2 separate regions of the Homo sapiens genome follow, and region 1 is linked to region 2. The links are contacts of gene promoters, found by promoter capture Hi-C in human tissues and cell types (Jung and others, 2019). All regions are on one chromosome and are shown on one strand. The core of a region is centred on a gene start or on the middle of the fragment in contact, and the rest is flanking DNA. Distances in the headings are between cores, read along the strand shown. Region 1 overlaps KIF15 (kinesin family member 15). Region 2 holds the start of TMEM42 (transmembrane protein 42).

Region 1 (6,487 bases), core at 343-2,842, 49 kb before region 2:
CAAACCCCAGTATTTTGTCCTTTCCAGGCCATGGAGGTAACCGCTTGCAGCCCTGAGGAAGCTTCTTAGAAGTCTCAAGATGGCTCTGTCATGTAATCCAGGATTTTAATTTTAATCACTTCTTTCCTTTGTATTTCAAAGTGTCTACTTTAATGGACCACAAGTGTAAATCTGAAACATTAGCAATCATTTAGTATATAACCTTTTGATGATGTTTTCTGGCTCCAAACAGGCCTTTGATACCTTTGTTCATATGAGGTTTTGAATTTGTTTTGTTTTGTTTTGTTGTCTCTTTAATGCAGACGAAATGGTGGAATGTTTGAGAATTCCATTAAAATAAATTTTGATGACTGAAGTTTTTGTGTTGCAGGAACAAATGAGTGCTCTTCAAGCCAAACTGGATGAAGAAGAGCATAAAAACCTAAAGCTTCAGCAGCATGTTGACAAACTGGAACATCATTCTACCCAAATGCAGGAGGTGAGACCAAGAGCACAGCCTCAGAAAATGTATGAAGTACCCTCAAATGTTACCTTGAGGAAACATCCTCAAGGATCCTCAAACATCCTTGAGTATGCATGAAACATATTCAGAGAGTATCACAGAAAGAAAATGTTGTCACATGGCCTTAGTGAAGGCTTATTTGAGCTGTATTCTCTACCTTGTTACTTAGCATGCTGCTCTGATAATGAGACAGGCATGCATAGTCTAAACCTGGCTGACTTAGTCAATAATGCAAATGGATCCCTTGCTATGTGTTTAGAAGAAACCAAGATGGACTGTCCATGGCTTCATAGTTGTTAATCATCTTTACTGTAGTTCATGGGGACAGCCAATTTTCTTCTGGTCAGAGACGTTAAAGCTAGACTTTAAAAACAGGGACAGGTTAATGGGGCCAGGCACAGTGGCTAACACCTGTAATCCCAGCACTTTGGGAAGCCAAGGCAGGTGGATCGTCTGAGGTCAAGAGATCAAGACCAGCCTGGCCAAGGTGGCGAAACCCCGTCTCTACTAAAAATACAAAACTTAGCTGGACGTGGTGGCGTGGGTCTGTAGTCACAGCTACTCAGGAGGCTGAGGCAGGAGAATCACTTGAACCCAGGAGGCGGAGGTTGAAGTGAGCCGAGGTCGCATCACTGCACTCCAGCCTGGGTGACAGAGCAAGACTCTGTCTCAAAAAAAAAAAAAGAAACAGGTTAATGATTTGGAGTGCATCTTAGCATGCCAGTATTCCTTTTCCAGTAAATTTATCTTTTTTCCCAAAGCTTTTCTCATCAGAAAGAATTGATTGGACCAAACAGCAGGAAGAGCTTCTCTCACAGTTGAATGTCCTTGAAAAGCAGCTTCAAGAGACTCAAACTAAAAATGACTGTAAGTTATTCTATCAGGAGCTTTGTGACTTGAAGGAATACTGTAACTCAATATCTTTTTACTTTTATTAATAAATGCTGTTCCTATGTTTTTGGATGGTTGCTTTGTTGTTGTTGTTTGTTTGATAACCAGACTGCAGTTTGCATGCAGTGGTAAGTAACAGTAATATATCATAAAAGGTAAATTTCTCTATCATTGCCCACAAACAAATGATACAAATGTTTGCTTAAAGTTTTTTGTTGTTTGTTTGTTTTTGACACAGACTCTCGCTTTGTCACCCAGGCAGGAGTCCAGTGGCATGATCTTGGCTCACTGCAACCTCCACCTCCCGAGTTCAAGCGATTCCCCACCTCAGCCTCCTGAGTAGTAGCTGGGATTACAGGAGTGCATTACCATGCCTGGCTAATTTTTTTTTTCTTTGGTCATTTTTTTTTTGTTTTGTTTGTTTTGTTTTTTTTTTTTTTGAGGTGGAGTCTTGCTTTGTCACCCAGGCTGGAGCGCAGTGGCGGGATCTCGGCGGCTCACTGCAACCTCCAGCTCCTGGGTTCAAGCAGTTCTCCTGTCTCCTCCCAAGTAGCTGGGATTATAGGCGTGCACCACCAAGCCCGGCTAATTTTAGGAGAGACACGGTTTCGCCATGTTGGCCAGGCTGGTCATGAACTCCTGACCTCAGGTGATCCACCCACCTCGGCCTCCCAAAGTGCTGGGATTACAGGCGTGAGCCACTGTGCCCAGCCTGCTTAAAGTTTTAGATAAGCTGCTTTGAAAATGAAGTGTCTTGAATTCATGAATGTTTTAATATTAACAAAGCGTAGGTTATATATTTGTATATGTTTGTAGATGTGGGAATATCATTTGATTCCCAATTTTTTCACTTTATTTTTCCCTTCATTAAAGTATTTGCAGTGGTTTGTAATAAAGCTAAAACAAAAAGAGATAGCCATTCTATTTTCTTTGAACTAAAAAGTTAACTAATACTATTTGCAGTTGTAGTTGTCTTAGAAGACCTGAAGTAGTTAACCCATGTTGGAAAGTTTAGGCAAATTTCCAAGGGATTTTCAATAACTAAGATGAGCTCACTCAAAATATGTTACATCTTTTAATTTTTTTTTCTTATATTAAGAGTTTTGTTTGTTTGTTTGTTTTGAGACAGAGTCTCACTTTGTCACCCAGGCTGGAGTGCAGTGGGTGCAATCTCGGCTCACTGTAACCTCCAACTCCCAGGCTCAAGCGATCCTCCCACCTCAGCCTCCTGAGTAGATGGGACCACAGGTGCTCACCACCACAGCCAGCTAATTTTTTGTATTTTTGGTAGAGACAGGGTTTTGCCATGTTGCTCAGTCTGGTCTCGAACTCCTGACCTCAAGCATTTCGCCTGCCTCAGCCTCACAAAGTACTGGGATTATAGGCATAAGCCACTGTGTCTGCCCTTATATTAGGAGTTTTGAAGCACATTTTACAGGAGAAATCTAGCAAAGTCAAGTGACCTGTAAGTCAGGGACAGATGTTAATGCTTTCTATTTCAGTAGAAATTTACGAAAAACCATGTGCAAGGGAGAGGAAGAAAATAGAAATCTCAGTGCTGCTAGGTACCCGCCACTTAATTCTTTAACATTTTTCCTTAAAATAGTCTCTTCGACTTGATTTTGCTAATTGTGGGACTAGTACCTATCAGATTTATTTGTCTGCTTTAAGAAACCTACTGAGGATATGTTTTCTTTGTTTTTTAGTTTTGAAAAGTGAGGTACATGACCTGCGAGTAGTCCTTCATTCTGCTGACAAGGAGCTTTCTTCAGTGAAATTGGAATATAGTTCATTCAAAACGAATCAGGAGAAAGAATTCAACAAACTTTCCGAAAGACACATGCATGTACAGCTTCAATTAGATAATCTCAGGTAGAGTTGTTCTTTTATGGTTTCAAGTTGCCTGATTGGCTGTAACCTACGACTGTTTGAAGTTGGAAGTGTTATAAACTCAACTCAAAGCAGTTAGACAAATAAAAAAGATAATTTATTGGCTCCAATATTGGAAGCCCCAGAGGTGATTTTGGTTTCAGGAACAAACTAGTCTGAGTCTCAAGCAATATTGTCAGTGTTCTATCTCTCTCAGCTATGCTCAGTTCTATGTGTTGCTCTTATTCCCTCCTATTACTGAGGTCCTTCTTCTATGTGACAAGGAACAGATTGCCTCACACAGCTCCATATTTTGGTTCCCAGGATAAAAACCCCTGTAAAGAAATTCTCTCTCCCAATAGCCATGTATTATCCCAGAGAAAATCTGAATTGGTTTTGCTTGAGTCATCTGCTCACCTTTGGACCAGTCACTTTACCAGGTTTGAGATGGCACTGGCCTGACATAGAGTAATGTGCCTGCTCTGGAGGGAAAGGTGTGCTCTTACTAGAAGAAAGGACAGTCAGTATAAGGTAAACCAAAACAATAGTCTTCACTGCTGTGCACACTAACTCTACAAAGGCTGGCTGATTAGTCAAGTGCTGATATCTTGAAACAAATGTAATCTCACATCTAAATAGTTTATTCTTTGTTATTTACTGTTTCTTTTTTTCTTCTTGCTAATTTCAACCTTTTGTATAACATAACACTTTTTGATAATGTCTCCTGTGTCTATAAGCCATAATTTAATAATGGACATGAATGTTACACTGTGAATGTGATGTGAATGTAACTGTTTGCTCTGGAAAAGCTACTAGTAGGCAGCCTTGAGTTTAATTTTTGTAGATGTTACAAAGATTAAAATCTGTAGCTGTTGAGTGTTTTTTGGATATACAACCAGAAATTGAAAGAGAGGAAGAAAACTTGAGATCTGCAGGCCAGAGCCACCTATACATACATTTTTCTTTTTTTTTTAAAGATTCATTTCTATTTGTAAAATGAAAAAAATGCATAATTATTACTAATGAAATACTGACAATAGTTTCATAAAAGAGAAAGTGATGACATTTGTAACCTTTCCTTGCCATATCTCTATCTCACTGAATGTTGAATAGCTTGAGTTTTAGGCAAAATCCCATATTTATCTGCTGCTGCTGCTTCTCCTTTTTTTAAAATTTTTTTAAATTTTACTTTAATTTCTAGGGTACATGTGCACAACGTGCAGGTTTGTTACATAGGTATACATGTGCCATGTTGCTTTGCTGTACCCATTAACTCATCATTTACATTAGGTATTCCTCCTAATGCTATTCCTCCCCCAGCCCCCCACCCCTTGACAGGCCCCAGTGTGATGTTCCCCGCCCTGTGTCCACGTGTTCTCATTGTTCAGTTCCCACCTATGAGTGAGAACATGAGGTGTTTGGTGTTCTGTCCTTGTGATAGTTTGCTGAGAATGATGGTTTCCAGCTTCATCCATGTCCCTGCAAAGGACATGAACTCATCCTTTTTTATGGCTGCATAGTATTCCATGTGTATATGTGCCACATTTTCTTAATCTAGTCTATCATTGATGGACATTTGGGTTGGTTCCAAGTCTTTGCTATTGTGAATAGTGCCACAATAAACATATGTGTGCATGTGTCTTTATAGTAGCATGATTTATAATCCTTTGGGTATATACCCAGTAATGGGATCGGTGGCTCAAATGGTATTTCTAGTTCTAGATCCTTGAGGGATTGCCACACTGTCTTCCACAATGGTTTAACTAATTTACGCTCTCACCAACAGCGTAAAAGTGTTCCTATTTCTCCACATCCTCTCCAGCATCTTTTGTTCCCTGACTTTAATGATTGCCATTCTAACTGGTGTGAGATGGTGTCTCATTGTGGTTTTGATTTGCATTTATCTGATGACCAGTGATGATGAGCATTTTTTTCATGTGTCTCTTGGCTGCATAAATGTTTTTTTTTTGAGAAGTGTCTGTTCATATCCTTTGCCCACTTTTTGATGAGGTTGTTTGTTTTTTTCTTGTAAATTTGTTTAAGTTCTTTGTAGATTCTGGATATTAGCCCTTTGTCAGATGGGTAGATTGCAAAAATTTTCTCCCATTCTGTAGGTTGCCTGTTCACTCTGATGGTCATTTCTTTTGCTGTGCAGAGGCTCTTTAGTTTAATTAGATCCCATTTGTCTATTTTGTCTTTTGTTGCCATTGCTTTTGGTGTTTTACTCATGAAGTCTTTGCCCATGCGTATGTCTTGAATGGTATTGCCTAGGTTTTCTTCTAGGGTTTTTATGGTTTTAGGTCCAACATTTAAGTCTTTAATCCATCTTGAATTAATTTTTGTATAAAGTGTAAGGAAGGGATCCAGTTTCAGCTTTCTACATATGGCTAGCCAGTTTTCCCAGCACCATTTATTAAACAGGAAACCCTTTCCCCATTTCTTGTTTTTCTCAGGTTTGTCAAAGATCAGATGGTTGTAGATGTGTGGTATTATTTCTGAGACCTATGTTCTGTTCCGTTGGTCTATATCTCTGTTTTGGTACCAGTACCATGCTGTTTTGGTTACTGTAGCCTTGTAGTATAGTTTGAAGTCAGGTAGCGTGATGCCTCCAACTTTGTTCTTTTGGCTTAGGATTGTCTTGGCAATGCGGGCTCTTTTTTGGTTACATATGAACTTTAAAGTAGTTTTTTCCAATTCTGTGAAGAAAGTCATTGATAGCTTGATGGGGATGGCATTGAATCTATAAAATTATCTTGGGCAGTATGGCCATTTTCACAATATTGATTCTTCCTACCCATGAGCATGGAATGTTCTTCCATTTGTTTGTGTCCTCTTTTATTTCGTTGAGCAGTGGTTTGTAGTTCTCCTTGAAGAGGTCCTTCACATCCCTTGTAAGTTGGATTCCTAGGTATTTTATTCTCTTTGTAGCAGCTGTGAATGGGAGTTCACTCATAATTTGGCTCTCCGTTTGTCTGTTATTGGTACATAGGAATGCTTGTGATTTTTGCACATTGATTTTCTATCCTGAGACTTTGCTGAAGTTGCTTATCAGCTTAAGGAGATTTTGGGCTGAGATGATGGGGTTTTCTAAATATACAATCATGTCATCTGCAAACAGGGACAATTTGACTTCCCCTTTTCCTAATTGAATACACTTTATTTCTTTCTCTTGCCTGATTGCCCTGGCCAGAACTTCCAACACTATATTGAAGAGGAGTGGTAAGA
Region 2 (6,793 bases), core at 1,016-3,515:
GGACCCTGTCTCAAAAAATACATATATATATAATCTGGGCTTGATGGTACCTGCCTGTAGTCTTAGTTACTCAGGAGGCTGAGCTGAGAGGATGGCTTCAGCCTGGGAGCTCAAGGCTGAAGTGAGCCATGATTACACCATTGCACTCTAGCCTGGGTGACAGAGAGACTCTGTCTCCCTCTAAAAACAAACAAAATTCAGTCTAGCTCTAGACCTAATGAGAATCTTCATCTTAGCAAGATCCCTAGGTGATGTGTGTACACAGGAGTTTCTTAGAGGCAGAAATCACTTCCCAGCAGTGTCTGAGGATGGCATCACTTCAGCCATCATCACCAGGGCTGGGGACCTGGAGATTAACAACGATGTAGTCCCTGCCCTCAAGGAGCTTGCAGGCTAGCAGAGAAACAGACAACCAGAGGAACAACCACAGGACTGGTACAAAGGTAGGGGAGTAGCAGAGACGGCTTTACAGAGGAGGTGGCTCTGAGATGCTTAACCTTTAGTGCTAGTAGAGGCATCGTTTGTTCTAAGAAAATTTGCTTTACATTCTTTAAAGCATGCAGAGTTGATCAATGCAACACCTCTTGATTTCCTGATAAGAGCTTTCAGAGGGTATCATCTTTGAGCAGCTCCTTACTCAATGGAGTGGTGCAGTGAGACCTCTGAGCCTCAATTTCCTCATCTGCAAAATGGGACAGTTTGTACCATATTGGCGTTACTGAAATTATCCGTGTTTTTTTTTGAGACAGAGCCTTACTCTGTCACCCAGGCTGGAGGGCAGTGGTGCAATTTCGGCTCACTGCAACCTCTGCCTCCTGGGTTCAAACAATTCTCTGCCTCAGCTTCCCAAGTAGCTGGGAATACAGGTGCCCGCCACCACACCCAGCTAATTTTTTTTGTATTTTTAGTAGAGATGGAGTTTCACCATCTTGACCAATCTGGTCTTGAACTCCTGACCTCGTAATCCACCCACCTTTGGCCTCCCAAAGTGCTGGGATTACAGGCGTGAGCCACCGTGCCTGGCCTTATCCGTGCTTTTATTTGAGCCACAAAACCACCCTGTGAGAGAAGCAGCATGGTGTGGAAGGACTTCCATAAAAACTTGCTAAACAGAAGATACAAAAAGAATGCTGCTAAACAGTATGTTCAACTGTGAAATCATTTTTGTTTAAAAAATGCATATACATATTCTATAATTTTTTTAACATTTTAACTATATATAACTAAATAGACATATAGAAAAATGCTCTATTAACACTGATTTTCCTGGAGAGTGGAAATAGCACTTTATACATTTCAACACTTTATTTTCAAGGACGTGTACTTTTTAAATGGGAACATTTTATTTTTATTTTTATTTTTTGAGACGGAGTTCACTCTTGTTGGCCAGGCTGGAGTGCAATGGCATGATCTCAGCTCACCACAACCTTCACCTCCCAGGTTCAAGCGCTTCTCCTGCCTCGGCCTCCCGAGTAGCTGGGATTACAGGCATGCACCACCACGCCCGGCTAATTTTGTATTTTTAGTAGAGACGGGGTTTCTCTATGTTGGTCAGGCTGGTCTCGAACTCCCGACCTCAGGTGATCCACCCGCCTCGGCCTCCCAAAGTGCTGGGATTACAGGCATGAGCCACCACGCCCAGCCGGAAACATTCTAAACATACGTAAGTATAACAGGAGATTAGAAGTCATGTTGATTCTGCGTGGCTTGATTATGGATCATTGTCTTCCTCTCATCGCAGATCCTCATTTTTTCGGTTTTCTGTGATGCGCTTGTCCCCATATGGGGCTCTGGCGTCTTTCTGGGTCTGGAGGTCCCCAGCGCCCTCTGCCGAGGCATCTCTTGGTCCGGCGGTCCTCAGGCTGGAGGGTGGAGCGGAGAAGCCTGGTCGACGTGGATGGACTCGGTGGGCCGGCGCGGGGCCCGTTAGGCATCTTTAATAAGTTTCACCGGGAGCCGGGTGGCCGGGATGGAGACGGCTAAGCCGCGAGAAGTTTACCTTCTACCACAGCGTCCACAGTACCCGGCTTGGCCTCAGGCCTCGGGTCCCGACGTCCTCCCCAGAGCACAAACCTACTACAGGTTAGGCCGGAGGCCGCCACAGCCCAGGGTCTCTGCCACCTGGCCCGCCCCCTCCGAGGCGCCGGAGAGCGATTCCCAAGGGGCCTGCCGGAGCGTGGCGTCACAGGAGCGTCGCGTCACGTGAGGCTGCCATCCAATCGCGGCGCGCGCTCTGCCCTGCGGGCAGCGGGTGCCAGGCACGGTGTCAGCAGGCAACATGGCCGAGAGGCCGGGGCCTCCGGGCGGCGCCGTGTCCGCGACCGCGTACCCTGACACCCCCGCGGAATTCCCTCCGCACCTCCAGGCGGGTGCGATGCGGCGCCGCTTTTGGGGCGTATTCAACTGTCTGTGCGCCGGCGCGTTCGGGGCCCTGGCCGCCGCCTCCGCCAAGCTGGCCTTCGGCAGCGAGGTCGAGCCCGGGGCGCTGTTGGTGCTGCTGCTGCGGGCGGGCGGGCGGGGCGCCGCTGGGCGGAGGAGGGGCGCTGCGGGGCCCGCGGGGCTCTTGGGGTGGGGCGGGGGTGGGCGCAGGGCGCCGCCGCACCCTCGCCGGTCTGTCCCGCCGGGGCCCCGGGCCGCGGGCGGCGCTGCGGTCAGCTGGGGTGGCAGAGAGTGTTTCGCCTCTAATCACGCCAAACCCTCGTCCAGTGTAGGTGGTAAGAGACGTCGGGGACTGAGGCCTCTTCCCTTACCAGGGACCTAAAACCTTTTCTCCGGTTGGGCTAGTTCGCTCTCGGGGAAGAACTACACCTCCTACATCCACCCTCTACCTCTCATTTTAAGTCCCTTGTGCCTGAGCATTTCTCTCCACGTGACTCTTAAGGTGAGAAGCCTCTTGCCCATCCCTTTACTCCGTAATTAACGGGTGTTGTGACCAGATGACCAGTCTGCCCCACTACCAGGAAAATTGGGAGTTTGGGATACTGTAGGCATAAGAGGATACTGACAGAGACGTTCTGGATGTTTTCCTGACGCTGAGAACTCCTAAACTTGCATCCTGGCGTCTGCTAAGGTGTATCTCTGCCTCTCCCTCCCACGTCGTAGACCAGCCTCTGCTTGCTATAGGGGTTTCATTGCGTCTGCAGCCCAAGGTTAGCCTCTGACCTGGACAGTGGTCACTGATTATTTAGGGTTAAGCCTATTTAGGGCTAATCCAGTAGTAGCTGCCATGCTTCAGGTTAGTATCCCATTGGGTGTAGTTCATGGGGTAAGTGGTCGAAAGTAAAATGAATAACTTTGTATGGGCCGTGAAGTTTGTTGTCAGGAACTAGACCTTCATAACCCTTTAAGCAGGTTGCCACTGGCCCATATGCTGCTTTGTGTAAGACAAGGTTGTCCAACTCGCGGCCCAACGCAAATTTGCAAATTTAAAACATGAATTTTTTTGCGATTTATTATTTTTTTTTTAGCTCATCATATATCATTAGTGTTAGTGTATTATATGTGTGACCCAAGACAGTTCTTCCAGTGTGGCCCAGGGAAGCCAAAAAATTGAACACCCTGGTGTAAGTTATAAGCAAGCACCTTTTTCTCAAGACACTATGTGTTCAGCTGCTGAGAAACCATTACAAGTAATAAGTATATTTAGATTCCGCACCCCCCCCCCCCGCCGCCTTGTCTCCAGGCAGGTTTCTAACTCACCACCAAGCAAGGGGGACTGCATATCCTTTGTGTAGGAGGCTTCTAAAGATCTTCTCTTCTCTTGAGACTTTCTCCTTTAAAAAAAAAGAAAGAAAATACCTGCAAGTTCTCCAAGGGATGTCTGGGATCACTAAATAGTCTGAGGTGGTGTTTCCCTCAGGCAAGGCTGTGCCCTAGTTAAGAGCATGGAGGTACACTGCCTGCTTGTGAAGCCTGGTGGCTCTCACCGCTGTAGCACTTTAGGAAGGTTACTTAATGCCCCTGGCTCTTTATCTGTAAAATGAAGTTAAGGAATAAATGAGAATGCTTAAACACAGCCCAGGACCTAACACAGAGTAAAAGCTCAAGAATACCCAGAGGGGGTCAGCCTTAGTGGGCTGTAACTTGTATAGGATTTGGGGGTGGGAATACAGAGCAGACATTGCTAATTCATGCTTTGCCTGATCTCAAGAAATAAGAACTCTACCCTAGGCTTACTACCTACGGAGTAAGAACTACTTGGCCCTCTGGGACTGATCTTCAAGCACTGGTCATTGTGGGACCAATAAGGGGCCGGTGTTCAGTAGAAAATACTGGCTTTGGATTAGCATTTTGCTTCTTCCCAAGATCATATGGCCAGCAAGGTGGCCAAATGAGTATCTTCTCTGAATTTGCTTTATTTGTAAGATGGGTCTGCTGCCCACTGAGGGTTAAGTGAAGCCCTGTGCAGGAAAGCTCTGAGGCCCTCTGAGCTGTAGTGGGAGCTCAGTAGGAGCCTGGGTGCCAGCAACCACAGTCCTGGGTGTGCTTTGAGGGGGTCTGCAGGTTGCTGCCCAGGGTGGACGTGGCTGCAGTGACACTTTCTCCTGCAGGTGAGCATGGGTTTATGCGTCTTAGGCATTATTGTGATGGCGAGCACCAATTCTCTGATGTGGACCTTCTTTAGCCGGGGCCTCAGTTTCTCCATGTCTTCAGCCATTGCATCTGTCACAGTGACTTTTTCAAATATCCTCAGCTCGGTGAGTAGCCTGAGGGTGTGGTGCTCTTGTCCTAAATCTGGGTTCTGGGTGAGTTGTCTTTGGATAACCCCTCCTTTCCCAGACAGGAGAAAGGACAGGAACTGAAGCAGAGGTTGGGCTGTGGCTTGACCCCTGGATGAGTGCTCTATTCATGGAGCAAATGTAATTCTAATCATGGAAGAATTCTTAAGTTAGATATGAGTGAAGCCTGACAGTAAAAAGCCTACTTGCTTGCTGTTCCTCCAGGGTGGAGCCCTCATTCTGAAGTCACTGTGCATCCTAGCTGTTTCCTAGGGTTCTGTGTACTCAAGGCTCCATGGCATTTAGAGGGTTGGGATTCCCAGAAACTTTTCTGCCCTGTGTAGTCTGAGGTTGACAAGATGGAGCTGAGCGTAGTCAATCTTGAGTTGAGGGAGAAACAAATACCATGTACCTGCTGTGTCTACCTGCTGGCATCTGCTGGGTCTTTCTTGTGTACTTTGCTGAGGTCCAGTGCAGTGAGGGAGGTAGCCTCTCCACTCATGCAGGGGAGATTGAATAGAGTGACTTGATGAAGGTGACAGCTAGGTTTCAAGCCCAAGGCTTCTGGCTCCAGACCTTTCCTCCTGGCACCCTTAGAAGGAAGTCAGTCCCAGGAGAGTGAGGTTGTGCCCACCTGCTGAAGTTGAGTCCCTCACAGCTATCTTTGTCTCGCAGGCCTTCCTGGGCTATGTGCTGTATGGAGAGTGCCAGGAGGTCTTGTGGTGGGGAGGAGTGTTCCTTATTCTCTGCGGACTCACCCTAATCCACAGGAAGCTCCCACCCACCTGGAAGCCCCTTCCACACAAGCAGCAGTAGCACCACTTGGCTAGACGGACCAGCTGGAAAGATCATGATGGTGGCCCAGCCTTGGGATGTCATGTGGGACTGTATCCTAGGGCGATCCAGTTGTGCAGCCTTCTGACCATCAGCCAAGGGAAGCAGGCCTCTGATGGAGCAGGCTCTGGCTCTGTAAGGAGAGGTGCAGCTGCAGCAGTGTTCTACCGGAAGTGTTTTGATCATCTGTACAGTGCTTTGGATTCTTCCTCCCAGGCCTACCCCAGTGAGCCTTCGCAGATGCTGGAGATCCTGGGGTTGGTCTGCTTTGTGTATGGTACTTGAAACCACGCTGTAATTATTGTCCTGTTGCCAAACAAAAGCCAGTCATGTAACTCTAGAAGCAGTGACTGGTGGGGCTTTCTGACAGTTCCATGCTGATGTATCAGGCCATCTGTGTCATGCTTATGTATTATGGCAAGAAGAGGAAAACTGGATTAATAAATACGTTTTTTGTAAGTTAAAACTACCAGGTACGGTATCTTAATTCTTTCCTTCCCTTTGGAGTAAGAGGGAGCCAGAGTGAGCTGAAATCCCAATGTGGAGGAGGCAGGAGAGTGAGGCAGGTACAGAAGCCTTGTGGCTTCGGTTGCTCTGACACCTGCTAGAGCTTGATCTTGTGGTTACTTCCTGAGGTCACACAGGCTAAGGCTCTTTGAACTGCACAGGGTCTGTTCATTCTCCTGGTGCTCTCAAGGAGAAAAGTTTGACCTCCCTTTGGAGACCTTGTTTTACTTGGGAAAGAAAGTGGTTCAGAGGTCCCTCCATTCCCTGCCACTCTGTTCCTCTAGCGTTTACCTTTAGGGCTCTTCTGTCATTTGCTTTTCTTTCTCAGATTCCCCTTTGGTTTTTTTTTGTTTTTTGTTTTTTTGTTTTTTTGGGTTTTTTTTTTTTGAGACAGTCTCGCTCTGTCACCCAGGCTGGAGTGCAGTGGCGCAATCTCAGCTCACGGCAAGCTCTGCCTCCCGGGTTCGCGCCATTCTCCTGCCTCAGCTTCCCGAGTAGCTGGGACTACAGGCACCCGCCACCATGCCCAGCTAATTTTTTTTATTTTTAGTAGAGATGGGGTTTCACCATGTTATCCAGGATAGTCTCGATCTCCTGACCTCGTGATCTGCCCGCCTCAGCCTCCCAAAGTGCTGGGATTACAGGCGTGAGCCACTGCACCTGGCCCCCTTGTTCTTTTTGTATCTTAGACCATGTGAATGTAATTCCTAGTTCAAAGTGGGCTGTGTGCTGCC

The links. The method cuts DNA at HindIII sites, captures the fragments that hold promoters and counts their contacts. A contact is called where the count stands out against the background at its distance.
Region 1: a fragment that was not itself captured here is called in contact with the fragment with the promoter of TMEM42 in region 2 in 4 of the 25 tissues and cell types used here (heart right atrium, mesenchymal stem cells, psoas muscle and 1 more).

Annotation. Positions count from the first base shown.
Region 1 is chr3:44,811,812-44,818,298 of GRCh38, forward strand. KIF15 (kinesin family member 15) reads left to right here. Exons shown (of 35, transcript NM_020242.3): 18 at 371-478; 19 at 1,264-1,369; 20 at 3,100-3,265. Among named protein-coding and RNA genes, the nearest start is that of MIR564, 47 kb to the right of the region's middle. The HindIII fragment of the contact is 4,882 bases long and covers 1-4,033 here.
Region 2 is chr3:44,859,647-44,866,439 of GRCh38, forward strand. It overlaps TMEM42 (transmembrane protein 42), which reads left to right and starts at 2,266. Exons shown (of 3, transcript NM_144638.3): 1 at 2,266-2,470; 2 at 4,551-4,697; 3 at 5,394-6,018. The coding sequence starts at 2,279. The coding sequence ends at 5,534. MIR564 (microRNA 564) reads left to right here and starts at 2,242; the gene lies at 2,242-2,335. It also overlaps a transcript of KIF15 not described here. RefSeq lists an enhancer at 1,726-2,315 and silencers at 2,346-2,395, 2,726-2,775. The HindIII fragment of the contact is 28,079 bases long and covers 1-6,793 here.